Regions from separate parts of the Homo sapiens genome. Here regions 2 and 3 are each linked to region 1. Evidence: promoter capture Hi-C in 16 types of primary human blood cells and fetal thymus (Javierre and others, 2016). All regions are on one chromosome and are shown on one strand. The core of a region is centred on a gene start or on the middle of the fragment in contact, and the rest is flanking DNA. Distances in the headings are between cores, read along the strand shown. Region 1 holds the start of B4GALT4 (beta-1,4-galactosyltransferase 4). Region 2 holds the start of NDUFB4 (NADH:ubiquinone oxidoreductase subunit B4). Region 3 has its middle 5.6 kb from the start of LRRC58.

Evidence for each region. Contacts are between HindIII fragments. The CHiCAGO score rates a contact against its expected background, and 5 or more counts as called.
Region 2: a fragment that was not itself captured here is called in contact with the fragment with the promoter of B4GALT4 in region 1 in 7 of 17 cell types (naive CD8 T cells, total B cells, non-activated CD4 T cells and 4 more); the score reaches 5.8 in naive CD8 T cells.
Region 3: a fragment that was not itself captured here is called in contact with the fragment with the promoter of B4GALT4 in region 1 in 2 of 17 cell types (total CD8 T cells and non-activated CD4 T cells); the score reaches 5.6 in total CD8 T cells.

What each region holds. Positions count from the first base shown.
Region 1 is chr3:119,239,628-119,243,530 of GRCh38, reverse strand. It overlaps B4GALT4 (beta-1,4-galactosyltransferase 4), which reads left to right and starts at 2,653. Exons shown (of 8, transcript NM_003778.4): 1 at 2,653-2,681. The region is part of intron 3 of B4GALT4-AS1 (B4GALT4 antisense RNA 1); the gene reads right to left. RefSeq lists silencers at 1,787-1,836, 2,487-2,966. The HindIII fragment of the contact is 11,429 bases long and covers 1,951-3,903 here.
Region 2 is chr3:120,592,662-120,596,564 of GRCh38, reverse strand. NDUFB4 (NADH:ubiquinone oxidoreductase subunit B4) reads right to left here and starts at 229. Exons shown (of 3, transcript NM_004547.6): 1 at 26-229. The coding sequence starts at 205. RefSeq lists an enhancer at 1-158. The HindIII fragment of the contact is 1,888 bases long and covers 794-2,681 here.
Region 3 is chr3:120,352,965-120,356,867 of GRCh38, reverse strand. It overlaps the pseudogene BTNL12P. Among named protein-coding and RNA genes, the nearest start is that of LRRC58, 5.6 kb to the right of the region's middle. The HindIII fragment of the contact is 8,642 bases long and covers 1-3,903 here.

The sequences.
Region 1 (3,903 bases), core at 1,404-3,903:
TATTTATTGATCATTCTTGGGTGTTTCTCGGAGAGGGGGATTTGGCAGGGTCATAGGACAATAGTGGAGGGAAGGTCAGCAGATAAACATGTGAACAAAGGTCTCTGGTTTTCCTAGGCAGAGGGCCCTGCCGCCTTCCGCAGTGTTTGTGTCCCTGGGTAGTTGAGATTAGGGAGTGGTGATGACTCTTAGCGAGCACGCTGCCTTCAAGCATCTGTTTAACAAAGCACATCTTGCACTGCCCTTAATCCATTTAACCCTTAGTGGACACAGCACATGTTTCAGAGAGCAGGGGGTTGGGGGTAAGGTTATAGATTAACAGCATCCCAAGGCAGAAGAATTTTTCCTAGTACAGAACAAAATGGAGTCTCCTATGTCAACTTCTTTCTACACAGACACAATAACAATCTGATCTCTCTTTCTTTTCCCCACATTTCCCCCTTTTCTATTGGACAAAACCGCCATCGTCATCATGGCCCGTTCTCAATGAGCTGTTGGGTACACCTCCCAGACAGGGTGGTGGCCGGGCAGAGGGGCTCCTCACTTCCCAGACGGGGCTGCCGGGCAGAGGGGCCCCCCACCTCCCAGACGGGGCGGCGGCCGGGCAGAGGGGCCCCCACCTCCCAGACGGGGCGGCGGCTGGGCAGAGGCGCCCCCCACCTCCCGGACGGGGCGGCTGGCCGGGCGGGGGCTGCCCCCCACTTGCCGGGCGGGGCGGCTGGCCAGGCGGGGGCTGCCCCCCCACCTCCCGGGCGGGGCGGCTGGCTGGGCGGCTGCCCCCCACCTCCCGGACCAGGCAGCTGCCCGGCGGAGGGGCTCCTCACTTCTCAGACAGGGCGGCCAGTCAGAGACGCTCCTCACCTCCCAGACGGGGTGGCGGCGGGGCAGAGACACTCCTCAGTTCCTAGACGGGTCGCCGCCGGGCAGAGGCATTCTTCACCTCTCAGACGGGGTGGTGGGGCAGAGGCGCTCCCCACATCCCAGATGATGGGCGGCCAGGCAGAGACGCTCCTCACTTCCTAGACGGGGTGGCGGCCGGGAAGAAGCGCTCCTCACTTTCCAGACTGGGCGGCTGGGCAGAGGGGCTCCCCACATCCCAGATGATGGGCGGCCAGGCAGAGACGCTCCTCACTTCCTATACGGCGTGGCAGCAGGGCAGAGGCTGCAATCTCGGCACTTTGGGAGGCCAAGGCAGGCGGCTGGGAGGTGGAGGTTGTAGCGATCCGAGATCAAGCCACTGCACTCCAGCCTGGGCAACATTGAGCACTGAGTGAGCGAGACTCCGTCTGCAATCCCGGCACCTCGGGAGGCCGAGGCTGGCAGACCACTCGCGGTCAGGAGCTGGAGACCAGCCCGGCCAACTCGGCGAAACCCCGTCTCCACCAAAAAATACGAAAACCAGTCAGGTGTGGCGGTGCGCGCCTGCAATCCCAGGCACTCGGCAGGCTGAGGCAGGGGAATCAGGCAGGGAGGCTGCCGTGAGCCGAGATGGCGGCAGTACAGTCCAGCCTCGGCTCGGCATCAGAGGGAGACCATGCAAAGGGGAGACGAGGACCGTGCAAAGGGGGGAGGGAGATGGGGAGGGAGACAGAGAGGGGGAGGGGGAGGGGAAAAGCTGAGTGATTCTTGCAAAAGGTATATATTATGCTTCCAGGCATCATATGCTCAAGACCTGGGGACTATGTGGGTATAAGTAACTGATTGTATAACGCCACTGGATGAAATCCAGTAATGTCCTTTTTCACTAAATGTGGTTATACACCCTTACAGCATGTTACAAAGGGAACACAAAAAAATAAGTTTCACACTGGACCTTGTTCAGGAGCAGTGTTGACCTATTTCACTGACCTATCCTCAACTGCCACTAGGTGGCCCTCTTTTCCAGCTTCCAAGGGCCTACATTGGGCCTATGCGGCCTCAGTATAGCCTCAGATTTCCTGCTATGAAGCTTAATGAGCCCAGCACTGGCTCTAGCTATGGTTTGTTCCTTTTTGGGTGGAGTGGATGTGTGGTTCTTGGAGAATCTACTACTTTCCCGTGAGTGCAGTGGGAGACTGCATTAGAGAATCTAGCTATCCTGACTGCCTAAACAGAGCCTACCATAATTTTTCACTCAAATCTTTAGTGTAAATATAATTGTCTTTGCTTTCTGTAATAATATCTTTGAAGAAATACGGATTTAAAAAAATCATTTAATATTCTCAGACCTGCAACATGGGAAAAATATTATTATTATTATTATCATTTTTGCAGTTGAGAGGGCTGAAATCTCGCAGGGTGATTAAGTTTATTAGCCTCTCTAAAGTCTCAGTTTCCCACTCTGTAAAATGGAAGGGTCCCTATCTCTTTCCTACTGCTTTGTGAGTATTTAAGGGGATGGAATTTGGGAAGCGCTCAGCACCCAGTCTACTATTGGCACAGGGTTTTAAAGCCACCCAGAGGCCGAGGCGTCAACCCTCCGTTTCCCTCCCGGTGCTCCTTCCAGCGCCCGGTGTGGTCGATTTGGCGGGGGTGGAGCGCCAGGCGCGTGCAGAGCCGGGCGGACCAGCCTCTCCGGCCAAGGCGGGAGGCGGAGCTCGTACTCAAGAGCCGCCTCCCGGGCGGCTGGGGCGGTCCCCGAGCTGCTTTCCGCGTTCTCCCCTCTCCGCGGGCAGTGCTAGCTCGCCGCGGCCGCCTCCGGGGTGAGTACGCTGGCTCCGCCGGCGCCCGGGAAATGCAGTTCCCTGGACACGGGCGCCGTGCGAGGGTAGCCGGGCGACGGCCGGGGTCAGTCCCAGGGCTGTAGCGGGGCGGGCGTGGGGATGACGTGGCGGCGTCCGTGGGGCAGTCCCGCCTCAGCCGGAGCGGTGGGCCGGGCCGGGGGCCTACGGAGGCCGAGCCTGGCGGGAGGCACCGGCTCAGGTGCTGGCGTTCCGCGCGGCGCCGCCTCTGCTGCGGGCCGGGGGAGCCAGACGAGGTGCTGCCGGGTAGGAAAAAATCCAGGGCTCATTCATACCCCAGGTCACGATTCCGGGGTCGCCCCCAGCACTTCTCCGCCGGGTGCATCAACCTGAAAAAGCCCCTTCTTCCTGGAAACCCTCCTTCTCCAGCGTTTCAACGGGGAAACTGATCAGCTGACACCAGCCCCAGTCCTGCGAGGGGCCGGCGACCTTTGACCTTTCTCCAAAGGGGTTGGTCACCTGGATTATAAAAGACTTCGGAGACAGCCATCCAGTGTTTGTTGATCTGTATCCCTTGATGTTCTGTCTTCCATTAGATAAGGGCTGTTAATTCTTGGTTTGAAAAAAAACAGACAAAGTCCAAAGGACTCTGCATCGAGGAGAGGCCTATGGGTTGGTAGCCTTAGGAGAGTAGTTATCAACAGTGGGTGGGTGTGCACACTGTTGCAAAGTGTTCCAGAGTGGGTGAGGGATGGGGACGTGGCGGTGGTGAGGGTACTGGTAGACCTCCTCAGCCGTTTGGTGATGAAAAGGAGGAAAAAGAAAATGGTAATCTGAGCGTGGAGGCGAGTTGTGGCTTTTTTTTTTTTTTTTAAATTTTTAAAGAAAGGAAAATAACACCTTTAAGATGCAAGAAAATCAAGGAGAGATCAGGATGAATAGGATTCAGGGTCCGGATTGAGAAACTGGGATTCAGAAGGGAGGGCTATTCCCGAGACCCAGGCGGGGAGTGCTGGAAGGTCTCTCTTGGGAGAGGAGATAATGCTTGATTGGATATAGTTCAGAAGTTTTTGGAATTTTGTCTTCTAGAGCAGGTTTGTTCTTTATGGAAATTGTAAACCCCATGAAATTGCAATAACTTTCGTCTACCTATAGCTTTGATCAGATTGAAAACATACGTTGTGAAAAAGTACTGACCTGGATTGAACTGTTTGACTACATAATCTAAGGGGAAGTGGATAGA
Region 2 (3,903 bases), core at 488-2,987, 1.4 Mb before region 1:
CCCGCCTGGGAGGCCCCACACTCACGATGAGCCCTCGGCGGTTGGGATCGTTGTACTGAAGCAGGTACTCTCGTTTCAGCTGGGCTCTTATGGCCAACCGCTCGGCTTGCGCCCGCCGGGTTTCCGGAGATATGTTGTATTCGGCTGGGTCGAGGGTCTCAGGCAGAGTGCGCAGGCTCGACGGCTTATACTTTGGGAACGACATCTTGGCGAACCAGGGCACAATTGCGCCTGCGCGATTCTGAGGCCCTTTGTCTATGCTGACCTTCAGCTTCAGGAAGTGCGCCTGCGCGTTAGCAGAGGTTGGGGATGTCGTTAACAAGGAGCTCCGCCTCTTTCTCCTACCTTCCCGAACACGGCGCGTTCGCTCGGTGATATGCGCATGCGCGAAGTGCTCTTCTCGCAGTGCGCCCTGCCCCACCGCCGCTCCCCACCTACTCATCTGTCACCGCGCTGCTTCTTCCTAGCAGCCTTGTCTCTACTGACATAACCAGGGCTTATTATGTAAAGTTGAGCTGTGTGGGACTGGCTGTGGAGTCAGAAGTCCGGGTTTTCATTGTGGGTCTAACCGTGCTGTGTCACCTTGGATAAGTCACTTAAAGTCTCTGAGTTTCCTTTTCCTTATCCTGGAGATAATGACTCCTGTCCACCTAGCAAAGTTGTTGTGAGGATTAAATAAGCTAACAAATAGATCACAAAGTGCTTTGCAAAACAGAATTCCCTACCCAAGAAGAAGAGAATAAGCTTTTCTGTACTTTACCATGCTAGATTCATACAACATTAAGTGTAAGCTTATTTTTCACAGGTACGAAATAATGATTAATAGGAAAAATGATGTTATAAGAGAAATGTTGCCTGACTGACTATAGAAGGTCAGGAAGAAAATGAGATACTGAATAAAGCTCATGAGAAAACATCTTAGTTAAAATACTAAAACCTCTTGCCTAAAATCCTTAGCACTCTTCAGATGCAAAGAATTAAAAACATCCTTACAGGTATGAAAATACTCATAGGGGCATGTATCTTATTGTAAAAGACGATCTGGGGCGAAAACTGAAGTAATCAGAAACAAAACCTTCTCTGTCCCTACTGTCCTTCCTTCTCCCCAGTTACCAAGGAGAAAAACAACTTCAAGTTTCACAGCAGGGTCTTTGGGTTCCCCTTCTCCTCAGGGGAAAAAATGTAAACAATATTTCCATAACTCGGGCAAAGAAGGATGGATCAAAAGAGAGCCCCAGCTTGGCTGAAACGTCTGGGGGCGCGTAGGTATGTTGGGAAATGGTTGCTAGAAAAGGGACCTAGAAAGTGTTGGCATTTGAAATGATGAGAAGCAGCACTGCTGTCAAATTTATTCAACATTTTAATACTGTTTTAAAATATTTATTAAGCACCCACCGCGTGAAGCACACAGCACACTAGTCAGTGTTAAGTCAATCTTCTAGGCTCAGTGGGGGAAATCCAGACAAAATGGAAGATGGGGTGTTTGCCTTTCGGGAGCTGACAATCAGGCAGTACAGAAAGAATAGGCAGAAATGGTAATATTTCAAAGTAGTCTAATGTCCAGATGAATATAGAGCAAAATGGACTCATGAGGATTCAGGCTGAGAGAATGTAGAAAAAATGAACACAAGACGAGTTACTCAGACTCGATTTTAAAGGAGAAAAAAAAAGGAAATTCTGACTTGTTCAAAGGTGTTTTGAAATACTAAGAAAATAATACAATATGAAAAGCAAGAGCAGTTTATAAAATTCTAAAGACTACATAAAGTTTCCAAAACCTGTATAGATTAGACACTGATCTAGGAAGGAGAGCATGTAAAAAGAATAAAAGGATAAAGGAATGAGTCCAGCGAGTACGAACTGATGCAGGGCAGGCGAGCCCCAAAGTGGGGCTTAGGCAACCAGGGAACTTGGCTTTGCCCAGGAAAGAATTCAAGGGCAACCCGGAGGTAGAAGAAAACAATTTTATTGAAGAGGCAGTGTTACAGCTTTGGTGGTGTCACAACCGTGACTGCTCCTGTAGAGCAGGGCCACCTCATAGGCAGAAAGCACCAGCTCAGGCCAGCTTTGAGTCACATTTATACCCACATTTGGCAGTTTGGCCGGGCGCGGTGGCTCACGCCTGTAATCCCAGCACTTTGGGAGGCCGAGGCGGGCGGATCACGAGGTCAGGCGATCAAGACCATCCTGGCTTACACGGTGAAACCCCGTCGCTACTAAAAATACAAAAAAAAATTAGCTGGGCGTGGTGGCGGGCGCCTGTAGTCCTAGCTACTCGGGAGGCTGAGGCAGGAGAATGGTGTGAACCAGGGAGGCGGAGCTTGCAGTGAACCGAGATCGCGCCACTGCACTCCAGCCTGGGCGACAGAGCGAGACTCCGTCTCAAACAAACAAACAAACAGACAAAAAAGTAAAGAGGCAGTTTATGCAGACATTTCTAGGGAAGGGGTAGCAACTTTTGGGTCATCAGGTCATTGCCCTGGAAAGGGGTGGTAACTCCTGGGTGTTGCCATGGCAATGATGAACTGACACACTGGTGTGTGTATCTGATGGAAAGCGGCTTCCACCTCCGACCTGTTTAGGCTAGTGCTCAATTTGGTTCGGTGTCCGAGTCCTACCTCCTACCTCAAACCAGCTGACTAGGTTAAAGAAGATTTCTTAAGGTTACTATAAAGAAAGCTTTGGATGAGTTAAAGTAGTTATTACCACACTTGCCTGATTATCACGAGGATTGCTTATGATGAGTGTTAAAAAAAAAGGGAGTTTAGCCAGGTGTGGTAGCATGTACCTGTAGTCCCAGCTACTGGAGAGGCTGAGGCCGGAAGATCCCTTGATCCCAGGAGTTTAAGTCTAGCCTAGACAACATAGTGAGACTGCACCTCTAAAAAAAAAAATGAAGTAAAAATAATTAGTAAATTAAAATATGGAATTTTTTTTTAACTCCTAGTTCCCGTTCTCCACCTGGAGATTCAAAATTGGTATGGCAGAGGAACCCAAGAGTCTGTATTTTTTACAATTTCCAGTGGGGGAGTGGTGGTATTAAAATATATTACATGCTTGTAAAACAGAGATGAGTACAAAAGGTCTTTCTTTTCCAAAGATAATTGGTACCAGAAAAGGCCCTCTTAGAATGAATCCATTAAAGATAGAGATGTAGATTCCATAGTGAAAGAGTGAAAGAAAAAGACTTGATTTGAACTTTATATTGAAAAAAATTCAACCCAAACTTATAAAAATGAATTTATCTTATATTTAACACGTTAGGTTACAACTGCAAGTATGTGCTAATTCTGGTAACTCAAATGTTGTTTTGGAGGAGGGACATAATTTTTTATATGGCTCATTATCCTTCACTGTGCATTTGATTTTTGCTGCAGGGTCTTACTTGCAAAAGTTTTGGAGGCGTTTATCTAGTTTTCCCAAAGACCTCTCTTAATCCTTTGAAATCAGATTATTTCTCTTTGATGTATTGATGTCAACATCGTTCTCATTGTTTTTCTCTTTTTCATTTGTTATCTGGTCCAACTCTGTGAAGTCCTCCTTTATTAATGACTTTGCATGTGGATCCAGCAGTTTACTAACATCAATTTCAAGATCATGAAATTCCACATCTTTTGTAAATTTGCACTTTTAATTTGCAATAGATTTCAGTTGTATTTGAGGGCTAGATATTTCCAAATGAATGACAAGGATTTTGATAGAAGTGGGTATAGGCACTAAGGTTAAAAGATTGGACAATTTAAGTGGGGAACAATTTCACAAGTTGTCATTTCATCAATGAATATTTCCTGTTTTGAAGACTTTTACTTCCTAAGAAACCTCCTAACAGAGTTTATCAGGTCATGGGTTACAAGGACAAAGTATATGTACCTGTGTTTGGCTGGAAGAAGGGGGATGATGTGG
Region 3 (3,903 bases), core at 965-3,464, 1.1 Mb before region 1:
CTATGAATGAAGCAGTTAGTTCCTGGTTTTGCATCTCCAGGTCCTCTCAGTTTCTCAAATCACTTTTAGTGGCTGAGTGAAGGAAACAACTATGCAGTTTCAAAATAAAGCTATATCCATTAACACAACGTATTGAAGAATTTTTGTTTTGGATTTGTTGTTTAGCCCTGGTTTTGTTTTGGTTTTCTCAAGAAAACAACTGGAATATAACGGAATGAAATAATTATGACCAGTTTGTGTCACTTCTCGAATTCATACTATGGGGGCTGAGGCTTGACTTACATTTGACTTTCACCTGAAGCAGAGGAGGAATATCTTGATGCTAGCACAGTATTGAGAAACCATGAGGAATACTTTGTACTCAGATATAAGACTATTTCTACAGGTGCCACAATCCACAGACTCTCCCAAGCCTTGCAGTCTTCGTGAAAAGACTGCAAGGCTAATAAAGAACACAAGTTAAGGAAATGGGATCTGGAGCTTCCAGTGAGGGCAGAATCAGAGGTGATCTCCTACCTAGTATTCATACCTCTTTCTCCAAGGCCTAGACACACCTATCATTTCAAAGTCTACTACTCTTCCTCTGTGCTGTATCTTAACAGTACACCTTAGATTTTTGGGGGCAAAGTTAAAATTTTAAATATTTTCTCCCATAATTATCTAAAGCATATCAATATTTGTCTATTCTAACCATCAGCACTAAGCATGCCAACCAAACCAGACCCCTTACCATTTCCCAAATATATGCTATAATTTTCTCCTTTTTGCTATGCTTTGTAAGAAATATTTTCTTTTTTCCTTCAATTTTGTATATTTCATCCCAGCTCTATCCAAATCCCATTGTCCTCTGAAAGCTATCCTAACTGTGGTAGCCTAAATGGTCTTTTTCCTCTGAACTTTGATAGCTTTTGGTTATGTTTCTGTATGAGTTACCAAATGTTATTTTATATTTTAGTTACTTTGGGTTCATGTTTTTAAAAATAACTTTATTGATATATACTTCATATATTTTCCTATCATACAATTTACTTACTTAAAGTGTACAGTTCAATGATTTTTTAGTAGTATATTCATAGTTGTACAACCATCACCACAATGAATTTTAGAACAATTTCATCCTGCCAAAAAGAAACCCTGTACTCATTAGCAACCACTGCCCATTCTCCCTTCCCTCTAGCTCTCGGCAACCACTAATCTACTTTCTGTCTCTAAAGATTTGCCTATTTTGGAGGATTTCATATAAATAGAATCATACAGTAGGTGTTCTTTTATGACTGGTTTCTTTCACTTATGTGTCAGAATAATGTTTCCAAGATTCATCCATGTTGTAACATGTATCAGCACTTCATTTCTTTTTGTTGCTGAATAATGTTCTATTGTATGTAAATACCACATTTTATTTATCCTTCATCAGTTGGTAGAGATTTGGTTTGATTCTATTTTTTGACTATGATGAAAAATGCTGTTATGAACACTCATGTGTAAGTTTTTGTGACGACGTATGTTTTCATTTCTGTTGGGTATATACCTGGGAGTAGAACTGCTGGATCATATGGTAACTATTTTTTTTAACCTTTTGAAGAACAGCCAGACTATTTTCCAAAGTGGCTGCACCACTTTTTCATCCCCAGTATTGGTCTATAAGGGTTCCAATTTCTCTACATCTGCACCATCACTTACTAGCTGTCTTTTATATTTTAGCCATCTTAGTGGGTATGAGTAGTAGCTCACTGTGATTTTAATTTGTATTTCCCTGATGGCTAATGATGTTGATCACCTTTTCATGTGTTTATCAGTGATTTTTATATCTTTTTTGGAGAAATGTCTACTCAGATCTTTTGCCCTTTTTAACTTGGATTTCTTTATAGGTTCATGTTTAATCTCTGTTACCAGACAGTAAATCTCTTGAAGGCAGTGATTGTATTTGAACAAAATCATGAACATTTTACTATGTTGTTATCCAGCACACCATAAATATGTGACTTGGCAAGTTAGTTAATTTTCCCACATCTCGGTTTTCTTGTCTGAAGAATGATGATAATAATATGTACCTTATAGAAGGGATGTGAGGATTAAATAAAAATAATCCCTAGACAGAGCCCCTAGGACAGTGCCTGGCACTTATAAAATAACCAATAAACATTACCTATTATTCTTACTAGTTTTTATACCTTGCAATATATAGTACAGTTTCTTACACACAGTAGGTACTCAATGTCTATCTGTGAATGAATTAGGGATTAAAATTATTTTAGCTCATTTATAGTTGTAGTTATGACTAGCTATCTATGAAAAGGTCAAACAAGCCAATATGGAACCAACATAAGCTGAGCAAGTGGATAAAATTTAAAAGATAGTCACTTCAACTCCCAAAACAATCAATAAGGAAAACACCGCACCGGGTCTAAGATAAACCCCTAAATGGAGTGAATTCAACGGGAGTAGCCATGAAGATGCTTTTATAGCTCTAACAAATGCTTAGTCAAAGACTCCAAAGATATCCAAAGATGTCATTATTTGAATCTTCAAAATAAAAGGGACTAAACTTCGATAAAGAAGCCCGGAGACATATTTCAGGAGACATTTTAATCTATCAATTCTACAGCAATAGCAAACTGTGGCAGAGGAAGAACTGCTGAAAATCAAACTGCTAGACCTTATATCACAAAACTGGCTGAAGACTTACTCTTGGTCCCTATAAATATAGAAGCCAACTCCTCCTCAGGATCGATTGAAAGACTATAGCTCCTTCTACTTTCAATGCTGCCCTAAACATAGAGTAACCGGTTTTTGAGATTTGGACAATTGGCAGGGAGATGGCAGAACTTTAAACCATCCTAGGCCAATATGGATAAACCAGACTGAGAGGGATTTAGCAGTGGAAATAAATCAAAACCTTGCATGCTAGCCTAAGCAACTGGCCTTCATCTGATAAGCAATGAGGAAACATGGGGTAAAGGCAGGAGGAAAAGAGATGGGTTGAAATCATGAAAGCAGTGCTTTAGAAAGGACAGTCTGAATCAGAGGTGGCTAAAATAAAGGTAGGAGTGGGTTTAGCAGGCATGAGGTCCTGATATACCTTGAAGACAAAAAAGACAATAAGCATAAATCTTGGGCAAGAGAGGTCAGACCAACCTCCCAAATCCTAATCCCTAAGACACAGAATGGCCCAGAGCAGAGGACCATGGTTTATGTAGGAAATTGTGCAATCATGAGTAAAGACTGTTCTCAACTTTGTTTTTCTACCCTGATCATGATATAACAAGTGGCAGAGAGCAATAGTTATAACATTAACTACTATTACAGCTAATAATAATAATTGCCACTACTTACAGAGTATTGACTTTGTGCTAGGTACTATGCTAAGCACTTTAGATTTTCACCTTACAATGACCCTATGGAACAGATAATATATTTTATAATACAGATGATGAAATCAAGCCTTACAGAAATTAAGTAACAAAATCAAGATTAAGTAAGAGAAATCTGATTTCCAGAGGTGGGTTTTGAAACCTGTATCTGATAAAAACCAAAGCCCACTCTTTTAACTGCATCAGTATGCTGCCTCCTAACTAGAATGGTTTATGAAAGGATTCTCTACTTAGATTATTTCTTGTTTTTTCTGCAGTCAGTAGGTCAATAGGGCCTATTTAAGTAAGGTATGTCAAAAACTATTCATGCATTTATTGCGTTCACTCACTATTTGCTGCCTACGATGTCTTGGGGGATACCATGGTAAACAGATGCAGTTCCTGCCTTCAGGAAGCCTAGAAAGGGTAGCTGAAGGAGGAGGAGAATTCATTTGGTCTCCTAAATGTCCAATACTATTCCAGTCAAGAGACTTATCTTGAAATGTATTCAATTGGCCAAGCCTGACATAATGGTGAAGTTCTGATAAGTGGA